Linked DNA regions of Homo sapiens: regions 2 and 3 are each linked to region 1. Evidence: promoter capture Hi-C in human tissues and cell types (Jung and others, 2019). All regions are on one chromosome and are shown on one strand. The core of a region is centred on a gene start or on the middle of the fragment in contact, and the rest is flanking DNA. Distances in the headings are between cores, read along the strand shown.

Evidence for each region. The method cuts DNA at HindIII sites, captures the fragments that hold promoters and counts their contacts. A contact is called where the count stands out against the background at its distance.
Region 2: a fragment that was not itself captured here is called in contact with the fragment with the promoter of OR9Q1 in region 1 in 2 of the 25 tissues and cell types used here (mesendoderm cells and ovary).
Region 3: a contact is called between the fragment with the promoter of OR1S2 here and the fragment with the promoter of OR9Q1 in region 1, in 1 of the 25 tissues and cell types used here (mesenchymal stem cells).

The regions. Positions count from the first base shown.
Region 1 is chr11:58,022,260-58,025,969 of GRCh38, forward strand. It overlaps OR9Q1 (olfactory receptor family 9 subfamily Q member 1), which reads left to right and starts at 1,622. Exons shown (of 3, transcript NM_001005212.4): 1 at 1,622-1,845. LOC107984331 (a long non-coding RNA gene) reads right to left here and starts at 2,160. Exons shown (of 3, transcript XR_001748218.1): 1 at 1,828-2,160; 2 at 581-765. The HindIII fragment of the contact is 7,062 bases long and covers 1-3,710 here.
Region 2 is chr11:57,839,807-57,843,516 of GRCh38, forward strand. No RefSeq gene overlaps it. Among named protein-coding and RNA genes, the nearest start is that of CTNND1, 80 kb to the left of the region's middle. The HindIII fragment of the contact is 6,432 bases long and covers 1-3,710 here.
Region 3 is chr11:58,202,341-58,206,050 of GRCh38, forward strand. OR1S2 (olfactory receptor family 1 subfamily S member 2) reads right to left here and starts at 1,802. Exons shown (of 1, transcript NM_001004459.2): 1 at 864-1,802. The coding sequence starts at 1,802. The coding sequence ends at 864. The HindIII fragment of the contact is 9,459 bases long and covers 1-2,745 here.

The sequences.
Region 1 (3,710 bases), core at 372-2,871:
TGGCCAGGCTGGTCTCGAACTCCTGACCTCAAGTGATCCACCCACCTCGGCCTCCCAAAGTGCTGGGGTTACAGGTATGAGCCACCACACCCGGCCCAAAAGCTCTTTTACAGAGTCATTGTGGTTTTAAATATCAATTCAGTTTTCAAGTGAGAAAATGGAGGCACACAGAATTCAACTGATTTGCTTAAGCTCTTATAGAGTAGGGGTGCCGAGGGACTTTGTGGGGTTTTAGTTCTCCTTCATCTCCATCTGCCTCCTCAAGCCACCTCAAACCTACAATCTAAACAAAATCAATTTGCTTTTGTTATTCCAGGGCAGCTTCATGACCATTCCCAGAGTCCCACCAGATGGCCATTCCCATGCTGTCCCTTTATTGAAATTCTGTGGTCATCGCATAGTCCATAAGCAATAGAAGCAAAAGAGTAAGCAGGTTTTACCAGAGTGTACCTTTAAAGTTTCAAAGAACCCGCACATCCACTATCTCATCAATTCACAGAATGTTCTGAGAGACAACAAGAATAGATATTATTGCTGCCTAGAGATTAAGAGCTAGAAGCTCAGAAAGCTTGATTCTCACCTTGGTTCCTGTCTGCTATAGTGGACTCTCTGGCTTGGTTTGGGTCTGGGGTCTCTGTCACATATATGGCTGGAGAAGCCTCCCACTTATTTTCTTATACCTCAGTTTCCCATTTGTTCCCATCATAGGCAGACTATATGTCAGTAGCTTTGAGGAACAGATTGTATCTGCTCAGTATTGAAGTCCTGGAATAATGAGAGAAGCGCCCAGTTAATTGATCAGATTTTATTTTAGGAATATCACCCTCCCTGGGGAGGTGGTATGATGGAAAGATGGTGGGCTCTGGAGTCAGACTGGGCTGGATTCTCATCTGGACTCTGTCACTTACTAGCTGGTTGAAGCAGGGATTTTGAGAGCCCCACATACTAGGTCCTTTCCTCTTCCCAGCTACCTGGCAACTAAGCAAACCTAGGGCTTGGTGGAACAGAGTTTGAAAACAGCTGATAGAGTACAGCTTTCCGGGAAATTTAGAATTAAATTCTGTAGCTAAGAAAAAGAAATTATATGTAGAAATCAATTCAATTTGCCTCCCACCCAAGGCCATGAGAGCAGGCTGCTCCAGATATACAAGACATCATTCCTGCAGGCATTGTCAGTCTTGTAGTCCGTTGACAGTAATTGCATGGACAACACCCAAATTGATTGACTTTTCTGTAAGTATTGTTGAACTTCCTTTTCCTTAAATTTCCTTAAAAACAGGTAGCTAGAAATGGAAAGGAAACTAAGTACGCTGCCAACGTACAATCAGGAGCATGCAGCCACCCTTTTATTACATCAGTATATATTTATTGCATGTAGACTACATGTCAGTGACTTTGGCATTAGCAACACAGTAATGAACAAACAAACAAAGGCACTATCTTCAAGGAGCTTCCTTTTGTGTGTGTGTGTGTGTGTGTGTGCGTGATGTTATAGACAAACAAATAAATATCTACCAGATGGCAATGAAGCTGTGACCCAAAAAATCAAACTGAGAAGAGGGTCAGAGAGTGAAAGGAACTGCGTTTTCAGATAGGTGGTCAGAAAGGGCCTCTCTGTTAAGGTGGCCCTTGTGCAGGGAATTGAAGAAGTGCAGGAGGATGCCACACAGAGATGGTAGAGGGAGCGAAAGGAGCAAAGGCCCTAACTTTCCCTTAATGATGTCTCCTTCCATCTTTAGTCCAGCCCAGCAATGTACATGTTATCCTTCCCGTTTGAAGATGAAGACACTGAGGCTCAGAAAGATCAAACGCCTTTCCCAAACTCACAGCTACGGCCTGACGGAGGTAGGGTCAAATGCAGCTCCACTGATTTCAGAGACGGTGCTGTTAACACAGGGGGCTGTCTGCATGTTGGAAAGTGAGATGTGCTGTTGCTGTCACGTTGCAGTGGGAGTGGGGAAGCAGGCTGTGATGAGCTAGACCCAAGAGGAATCAGAGAGCAGGTCTCCGGGCTTCATCCTGGGCATCTCCTAGCCCCGCTGTCTGTCTCATAACACCCACCCACTGCGCCTGCTCACCTCGGTTTGTTGGCTGTTTTTTTTTGAAATCATTTCCTGGATCTTAGTAAGTTTATTTTCCAGTTCCTTTCACTTTTTGGGACTAGGCCCCCAGATGCCAGGTGGAGAGAACTGAAAGAGGGAGAAATCCAGCGTTTCTCACCAGGCTTGTCACGTAGCTACACAAGCAAATAGCTACAGGAACCAAGTTTCAATTTTCGTGCATGGGCCTCAAACTGTTTTTCCATATTTGTTAGGGAAAATCTTGGCCAGGGAGCACCGTCTTTTGAGGACACCAAATTGGGCCAAGTTCCTGTGCGGCCTTTCTCCTTATTTAGTGATTGCCCCGTGTGACCCTCTCCTCTCTGGCTGACCTCTTTTTTCCTGCATGGCACTTGGTGGATAAAGTTCCCTGAACCTTGGAGAGGAAGCGGATGCTGTTAATAGCCCTGGGAGTGTGACTGTGCTTTGCAGCTCACTGGAGCCTGTGGGATATTCCTCCAGCCTTGGCGGGGCTCCGAGCTGCAGGGAAATTAACCTCAGAGTCAGGGCAGGGAGCCAGGGTTGCAGGCACGTTGTCATTGGGTGAAATGAGATGGCAGAGGAAAATGGCACGGTGTGGAGGCTTTTTTTGTCAGAAGCTCTGGGGTTTGGCTCTTCTCTGTGCCATGTAGTTCTTTGATCTTGCCCAAGTTTACTTACTGTCTCTCTGAGCCTTCAGTGATTTCAATTGCGTGAAAACCAAGACAAATAACACCTCTATATCAAGAATAGTTCATAGGATCATAGTACAATATTGTGGGGATTAAGCCAGATGGTATCAGCCCATCAGAATCTAGCCCATGGGAGGGGCTCCGTAAATGACCCTTTCTTTTTGAGACGGAGTCTTGCCCTGTCGCCAGGCTGGAGTGCAGTGGCGCGATCTCAGCTCACTGCAACCTCCGCCTCCCGGGTTCAAGAGATTCTCCTGCCTCAGCCTCCTGAGTAGCTGGGGTGCCCGCCGTGCTACTATAGGGTGTGTCCTACAGGCGCACGCCACCATGACCAGCTACTTTTTGTATTTTTGGTAGAGACGGGGTTTCACCGTGTTGGCCAGGATGGTCTTGATTTCTTGACCTTGTGATCCGCCCGCTCAGCCTCCCAAGGTGTTGGGATTGCAGGCGTGAGCCACTGCGCCCGGCCTCCTTTCTCCCTTTTTGGAGAGAAGCTCATCTTCCTACCAACACATGACCCGAAGACGTGTTGGGGCAGGGGGGAAGAGGAGTAGAATTTGGATGCTCTGGAACTCTCGCTCAGAAAGAGTTTCTCATTAGACTTGTCTCTGATGACTTCAATGATTCCATCAGATATTCATTCCGTTGGGTTAGGCATTGCCTCCCATCTAGGTTGCTTTCATTTGATTTCAGTTAGAAGGTGGTGGAGCTGAGATTTGAAGGCATCAGGTGGTCTAATGCCTGAATGTAGCCTTAACCACTGTGCTCTCCTGACTCTCTCCGTGGACCTCACAACCTCTTCTAACAATTCCTCTGGGCATATTACCTACTTCCACCTGTCTCTCCCCTGGCTTGCTGGGGTGCCTCCCCCTCCCTCTACTGCACTTGGTTTTGTCAGTTAAGGATTGCCTTCTTTCCACCGTCCCCCACCCTCAGTGTG
Region 2 (3,710 bases), core at 879-3,378, 180 kb before region 1:
TATACATGGCTGAGAGGAGTCTAAATTGGCAAAGCAATTCGCTGATACAGGAGGTCTTTTAAATTATTTTTATTTATTTTTTAAATTTTTTGAGAAAGGGTCTCGCTGTGTCACCCAGGCTGGAGAGCAGTGGTGCAATCGTGTCTCACTGCCGCCTCAACCTCATGGGCCCAAGCAATCTTTCTGCTTCAGTCTTCTGAGTATCTGAGACCACAGGTGGGAGCCACCATGCCCAGCTAATTTTTTTAATTTTTATATTTTGTAGAAACAGGTCTCACTATGTTGCCCAGGCTGGTCTTGAACTCCTCGGCTCAAGTGAACCTTCCACCTCTGCCTCCCAAAGTTCTGGGATCACAGGCATGAACCACTGTGCCCAGCCAAGGTCTTTAAAAATGTCAATGAATGAAGCATAGTTGTTAAGAATGCAAAGTTTGGAGTCATGAAAACTTTATTATAGGCCAGGCACAGTGGCTTACGCCTGTAATCCCAACACTTTGGGAGGTCAAGGAGGGCGGATCACTTGAGGTCAGGAGTTTGAACCAGCCTGGCCAACATGGTGAAACCTCATCTCTACTAAAAATACAAAAATTAGCTGGGCATGGTGGCACATACCTATAATCCCAGCTACTGGGGAGGCTGAGGCATGAGAATCACTTGAACCCGGGTGGCAGAGGTTGCAGTGAGCCAAGATCACACCAGTGCACTCCAGCCTGGGCGACAGAGTGAAACCTTGTCTCAGAAAAAAAAAAAAAAAAAAAAAAAGAAAACTTGATTATAAATTCTGACTCTATTTTTATCCATAATATAGGGATAATAATGCTGCCTATCTCATAAGGTTATTGTCTGGTTTAAATGAGAGAAAGCCTGTAAAGCACTTGTAAGAGTAATGGACACATGGTGGCAGAGCTGAATTTCCAACACAGTTCTTCCTGATATCAGTGCTTTTCTTTGCTATTTAGTCTTTTTTTTTTAATGAATAGGAAATTCAAACAACGTAGAAGTAAATAAAGCATCAAAGCCTTCCCTTTCCCTCTGCATCTCCACTTCCATTTTCATTTTTCACAGAAAAATATTTGCTGTTAAGAGTTTTATTCAAAACCCCTCCTATATATTTATAGGCATAAAAAGATACTTTTACATGCACAGTTCCCTTCTTCCCTTTCTCTCTTCTTTCTTTCCTCATTCCCTCCCTTTCTTCCTTCGTCCCTGCCTCCATCCCTTCCTCCTTCCTTTCCTTCCTTCTTTAAATAAAGAATGATGATTCTGTGTGCATTGTTCTGCAACTCAACAGTATGATTTGAACATCTGCCCATATCAGTCCCTGTGCAGAGCACTCTATTATATGGCCACACTAAATTTATTTGATCTTTCCCCTATTGATGGATGTTTTTGCTGTTTCCGATTTCTGCTCCATCAAATAATGTTTCATTGAAAATCATTTTGCCTATATTTTGCATATATGTGGGAGAAGCACAGTAGCATTTTTTTTAGTTGTGATGAGTTATATGGGGTAATGCTTCCATTTTTATTCTCTGTGCTTACCTAGGATTATTAGCATTTATTGAAGAATGCAGAGCTCAGTTAGGGGGTCTAGAATGTTGTCTTTGAGCAGGATTATGCCATGCACATTGGTAAGTCTGAGATACTTGCTGTGTTTTCATTTACTTGACACTGTTGTGCTGCTGAGCCAACCACTAACATGAGTTGAACTACATGTCTATGCCTCTAATTGCTGACAGTGTGCTGAGAAGAGAGGTAAGAGACCCACAGAAAAGTTTTAGAGATAATAATAGCAGACATGTAAAATTCTAGGGACTTTAAAATCACGGCCAGGCACAGTGGCTCATGCCTCTAATCTCAGCACTTTGGGAGGCCAAGGCAGACAGATCACTTGAGGTCAGGAGTTCTAGACTACCCTGGCCAACATGGTGAAACCCTGTCTCTACTAAAAAAAATACAAAAAATTAGCCAGGCATGGTGGTGCATTGTGACAATGTCCTGGGACATAAATTGCTCCCAGCTACTTGGGAGTCTGAGGCAAGAGAATTGCTTGAACCTGGGAGGCAGATGTTGCAGTGAGCTGAGATCATTCCACTGCACTCCAGTCTGGGCAACAGAGTGAGACTCCATCTCAAAAAAACCCAAAAACAAAACTCGCAGGGAAAAGCTTTTGTGAGAGATGGGCTTAGGATGAGGATTTGGAATGAATGTAATACATTATGTAATGCCCTAGAAGTATACTGGTAATACAATGTGATAAGTAACACATTTGACAATTTCTAAATTTTTAATTCCATGATTTATGAACTTAGAAACTATATATGACAGAGTGTTCAAAAAATTGTTTTGTGGGGTTTCACTTCTGTGTGAGGAATATTAATGTGAGGAGTGTTAAATGGAGCAGGACACTAGAGGTGGTAAGGACAGATTGTATTCAGTACTACTGCAATAGGGGAAAGAGACTTCAGTGTAGAACTGAGCTCAATTCTGAATACAACAAGGACAAATGGGGACTTATAGTCAAGGAGCAGAGTGAGGGAGGTCAGAGGATGGAAAAATTAGTTTGCCTAAAGCAGAGCTGTTACCTAGAGAGAAGCACACCAGTGATTTCTATCCCCACTACTCAGCTCTGGAACTGTGGCTCTGGTATCTTTCCTAGGGGGAGAGGCGGACTCTAAACAAATAAATCTAAAGTCTTCCCATAAGGAATGGAGTTTGATACAGGATGTAGGGAAGTTCAAGTCTAAGGGTTCTCTCAAACAATGGCAGTTTCATTAGAAAGCAATTAAGAGGCAGCTGGTGGCTTTATGATAGATACAAGCGAGCCCACTTACCAACTAGTTTACCAGAGAGCATCAGGGAAAAGGATTGCTAAGAAGAGCCCTCCTGGGGACAGAGCAAACCTTAAACATGCATCTCAAAAATGAACCCTGCAAGGGAGTCCTAATTTAATTGGATTAGCTGTGGAGCAATTTATGTCTCAGGACATTGTCACAAACAATAGAGCAATCAGCTGACAATTAGTGAAGCATAAGAGCTGGGAGTGATCAAGGGAAGAGGCAGTAGAAGAGAGCCCTGCTAAAATAACATTACTGACATCCTAGGGTGCCTGTGCATATGCCCAATGTTGCACCTTCTGAGGAACAACATCAGAGGCTTTACAGTGTGAAGGAAATAGACTTCACTAAAATAATCCACCCAGACAATATACAAACAGGCATACAACAATAACAAGCCTTGGCATCAGAGGGAGGGGAGTGATATCCAGAACTTCTACAATATATCATCTGAAGCATTTGTTTTCAACAGAAATTATGCTAACGTCAAGGAAACAGGAAAGTGTGACCTATACACAGGATAAAAATCAGTCAACAGAAACTACTTGTGAGAGGGACAGATGTCAGACTTAACAAAGACTTCAAAGTAGCCATTATGAAAGTAAGGAAACCATGCTTAAGGAAGCAAAAGAAGATAGGATGACAATATTTTATTATGTAGAGAATATCAGTAAAGTGGTAGAAACTATAAAAAAGAATCAAGTAGACTTTGTGAAGTTAAAAAGTTCAGTAACTGAAATAAAATCACTAGAGAGGCTCAACAGTAGATTTGAACTGGCAGAAGAGAGAATTGAACTTGAAGATAGATCAGCAGAGATTATGAAATCCAAAGACAGAAGAATGAAGAAAAATGAACAGAACCTCAGAGGTATC
Region 3 (3,710 bases), core at 552-3,051, 180 kb after region 1:
TAACTCAGAGTTGCCAAAAATTATTTGACCATGGGAATCTTCATTGTTATAACCACTAAACATCTCACTGAATAGTACCTTAACAAAACAAACTTTGAGAAAAACTGACCTAAAGAAATGTAGATTAAAGAAAGAAGTAGTAATAACTGTCTTCAAAGCTACAAAGGCTAGACTGTAGGCACTCTATGCACCTGTGATAGTCTAGGTTATGAATAATTTGTACCAAAGTTTATAATAATATAGATTGTAATTAAGATGTGTTTTTAAATTAATTTTTTATTTATGCATAAATTTTTAATTTATCAATACATGTATTTTTATTGATAAATTGTCCTCCATAGTTATGGGGAACATCTTATATTTTGATACATTCATATAATGTGTAATAATCAAATTAGGGGATTAGGATATCCATAACCTTAAACATTTATCTTTTCTTTATGCTGGGAACATTGGAATTATTCTCTTTTAGCTATTTTGAAATATATAATAGATTACTGTTTACCATAGTGCCCCATAATGATTTATCAAACAATAGGTCTTATTTCTTCTATCTAACTGTATTGTTGTACCCATTAATCAACCTCTATTCAACTCCACTCCACTTCTCTGCTACTGGGCCCTGGTAACCACCAATCTACTCTCTAAGGATGCGTGTTATTCTTGTGACTTACCATGGCAGTTACAGATTTTGTTTCCAAGACAAGAGCTAAGTGGAAAAGCTCCAATCCCCTTAGAGGTTGGAATAGGAGACAGACATCTGCAAGTTCATCAAAAGTTGAACCGTCACAACTGTGTCATACACTCTGGGCTGAATCATTTATCTGATTATGTGGACTAAAAGAATGTAGATGTCCAGGGCATCAAAGGGAAGAAATTTTTCTATTGATGAGCTTTCTCAGGGCACCTTTCATATCCTTATTCCTCAAGCTGTAGATGAAGGGGTTCATCATGGGTGTCACCACAGTGAATAGGACAGCACCAATCTTATCAGTGTCCTCAGGGTGAGTGGAGGAGGGGAAAAAGTACACGCCTACAGTGGTTCCGTAGAACAGTAATGCAATTGTCAGGTGAGAGCCACAAGTGGAGAAGGCTTTCCACTTTCCCTGTGTGGATGATACTCCCAGGACAGCTCTGATGATGCAGACATAGGAGAAGAAGATGAGTACAAAGGGGAAGATGATAACTGATAAACCCACAATAAACAACACAAGCTCATTGATCATTGTATCTGAACAGGACAGTTTGAGCAGAGGGGCCAAGTCACAGAAGAAGTGTGGGAGAGTGTTGTGGTCACAGAAGAGCAATTGAATGAGCAGAAGGGTGTGTGTAAGAGCAATAATATTACTGAGGAACCACGAGATGACTGTGAGCAAAGTGCCGAACCTGGCCCGCATGAAAGTTGTATAGTTCAGAGGGTGGCAGATCGCCACAAAGTGGTCGAAGGCCATGGTCCCCAAAAGCAAATTGTCAGTGACGACAAACACAATAGAAAAGTACATCTGTGTGATGCAGCTCTCATAAGAGATGGATTGGCTGTTGGTTTGAATATTCACCAGCATTTTGGGGACTGAGTTGGAAATGGAGGAAATATCAGCAAAGGATAGGTAGGCAAGGAAGAGATACATGGGGGTGTGAAGGTATATATCCAAGCTGATAGCCACAATGATGAGCCCGTTCCCAACCACAGTGACCACATACATACTCAGGAAAAGCACAAAGAGGAGGTTTTGATGTTCAGCCTGGTTGGAGAGTCCCAGGAGAATGAATTCAGTGATGGTGGTTTGGTTTTCTTGATGCATATTTCTGCTGATCTGAAGAAAGGAACACAAAGTCTTCATACACCTACAAGAAAATTTAACATGGTGTCATTTGGCTGCAGCCATTACAGTAAGGCACTTCCTTTAAGCTGATGAGCAATAAAGCTTCTTCTGCTTATTAAGTGGAAGTGCTACTTAATAAGGAAGTATTTCAGCAGTGCAGAGATTTGGAAAATGCCACAGAAAAAGACAGGACATGGCAGATTCTTCTCAATGAACATGTTTTAAACTCTAACAGAATTCTGAATGTGATTTTCCCAGTTGGTTCTAAATGTAGGTTAAATCCCCCAAACTGAGGATCATAGGTGAGGCATACCCTATATTCTAGAGATGTTAGGTACATGTGCAGGAATTACTTAAAAGTTACCAAACTGGTCCCCAAATCATCTCCCTTGTTCAACTTTATGCCTTAAATCTAAGAAAGGAGAAATTTCAAGTCTCGTAAAAGTGAAGAGACTGGAGAAGGAAACACAACTAAGGGTTAGGAATGGCTATGGGAGTGTACACCATTGTGTGGGTGCTTCATCCCATTAACGCCGGGGGAGAACTCCAAAACAAGTGCTTTTGGAGAATAAGTACAAGTAGGAGCAATCAGGGTTTTACTTCATCTGTGGCTAGATATTAGCTTCAAGAAAATTTAGGGGGCACAGATACACTTAAAGACTTCTGTTTGCCTCTCATTTCTAAAGGTGAGGGGCTCACTGGATCAGGTCGTGATGGCAGGGTAGAGGGAAAAGATGGTGGTTAGTAGGGCAATCTGCATTTTCACCCATGACATGGCATAAATATGTGAATTTCCCATAGGACACGTGATGCTATAGGAGGTCATTGGAGTCAAGTCACCTTGTTGAGATTCCAATCCAGAGACAGCCTATTGGGGCAGAGGAGGCTGTAGCAATAAGAAACCATGAGGTGGGTCTCTTTTGAAAGAGAGATCTTAAAGAGATCAGGGACATAATTCATTGCCCTTGTCAGGGAACCGCATAATGGGGCAGTCTCCAAAAGGGAGCCTCTGACAATCCTCAAAATGATCTCAAGAGACACCATGCCTGCCACATATAAGGCACAAGCTGCTAGTATCTATGGCAACAGATATGAACACTTTTGCCTTTTTTCCCATCCCCATTCTTCCTCCCTGACCTGATAAAACTGAAAAAGAAGGAAAGACCAAAATGACTAAAACAACAACAACAATAGTAACAACAACGGTTTTGCGGGAAGAGAGGCCAAAGAGCAAGGGAAGAACATATGCTCCCACCTTTCCACTGTATGACCCAAGCTACACATCAGATCTGAACTTACAAGGTAGGACCCATGCTTTGAATTGATAGTGAAGCTGAAGTTTAAAATTGGGCTGGACTTGGTTTTTTAATACCTGGAAATGGGTCTTCAGTATCAAAGTTAAACATTTTTAAAACCTTAAGTGGCCAGAAAGGTAAACGGCTCTCACAAGGTGTCATCCAGGAGAAGGGAAGAGAGACTGGACCTAGTATGATTTTCCTTGTGATTTATTGGAAATAATTTCAGCTTGGGAACAAAGAGACATTTGTCCCTCTTTCTACTCTCCTAACATTGTCTCCCTCTCATTTTATCCCTCTCTTCTACCTATCTCCAACATCACTTATCTCTCAAAGATTTTCTTTCCATTCAGCATCCAGAAAAGAGGAAATCATGTCTGGAATTCCTGAAAACTGAAAGGCATTGGAGATTGAGGCAGAGATCTGAAGTTTCTTTGCTTCTGAAAAGCTTGGCTTAGAAATCAGAGAGGAGGAAAAACACATGCAGAAGGGAGAATCCACAACAAAACTGAAATGAGCTAAATAACTGGCAGGCATCTATATTGAAGATACAGACTGGCCTGTGGTTATCAAGCCCTGGGCTGGTTTGCAC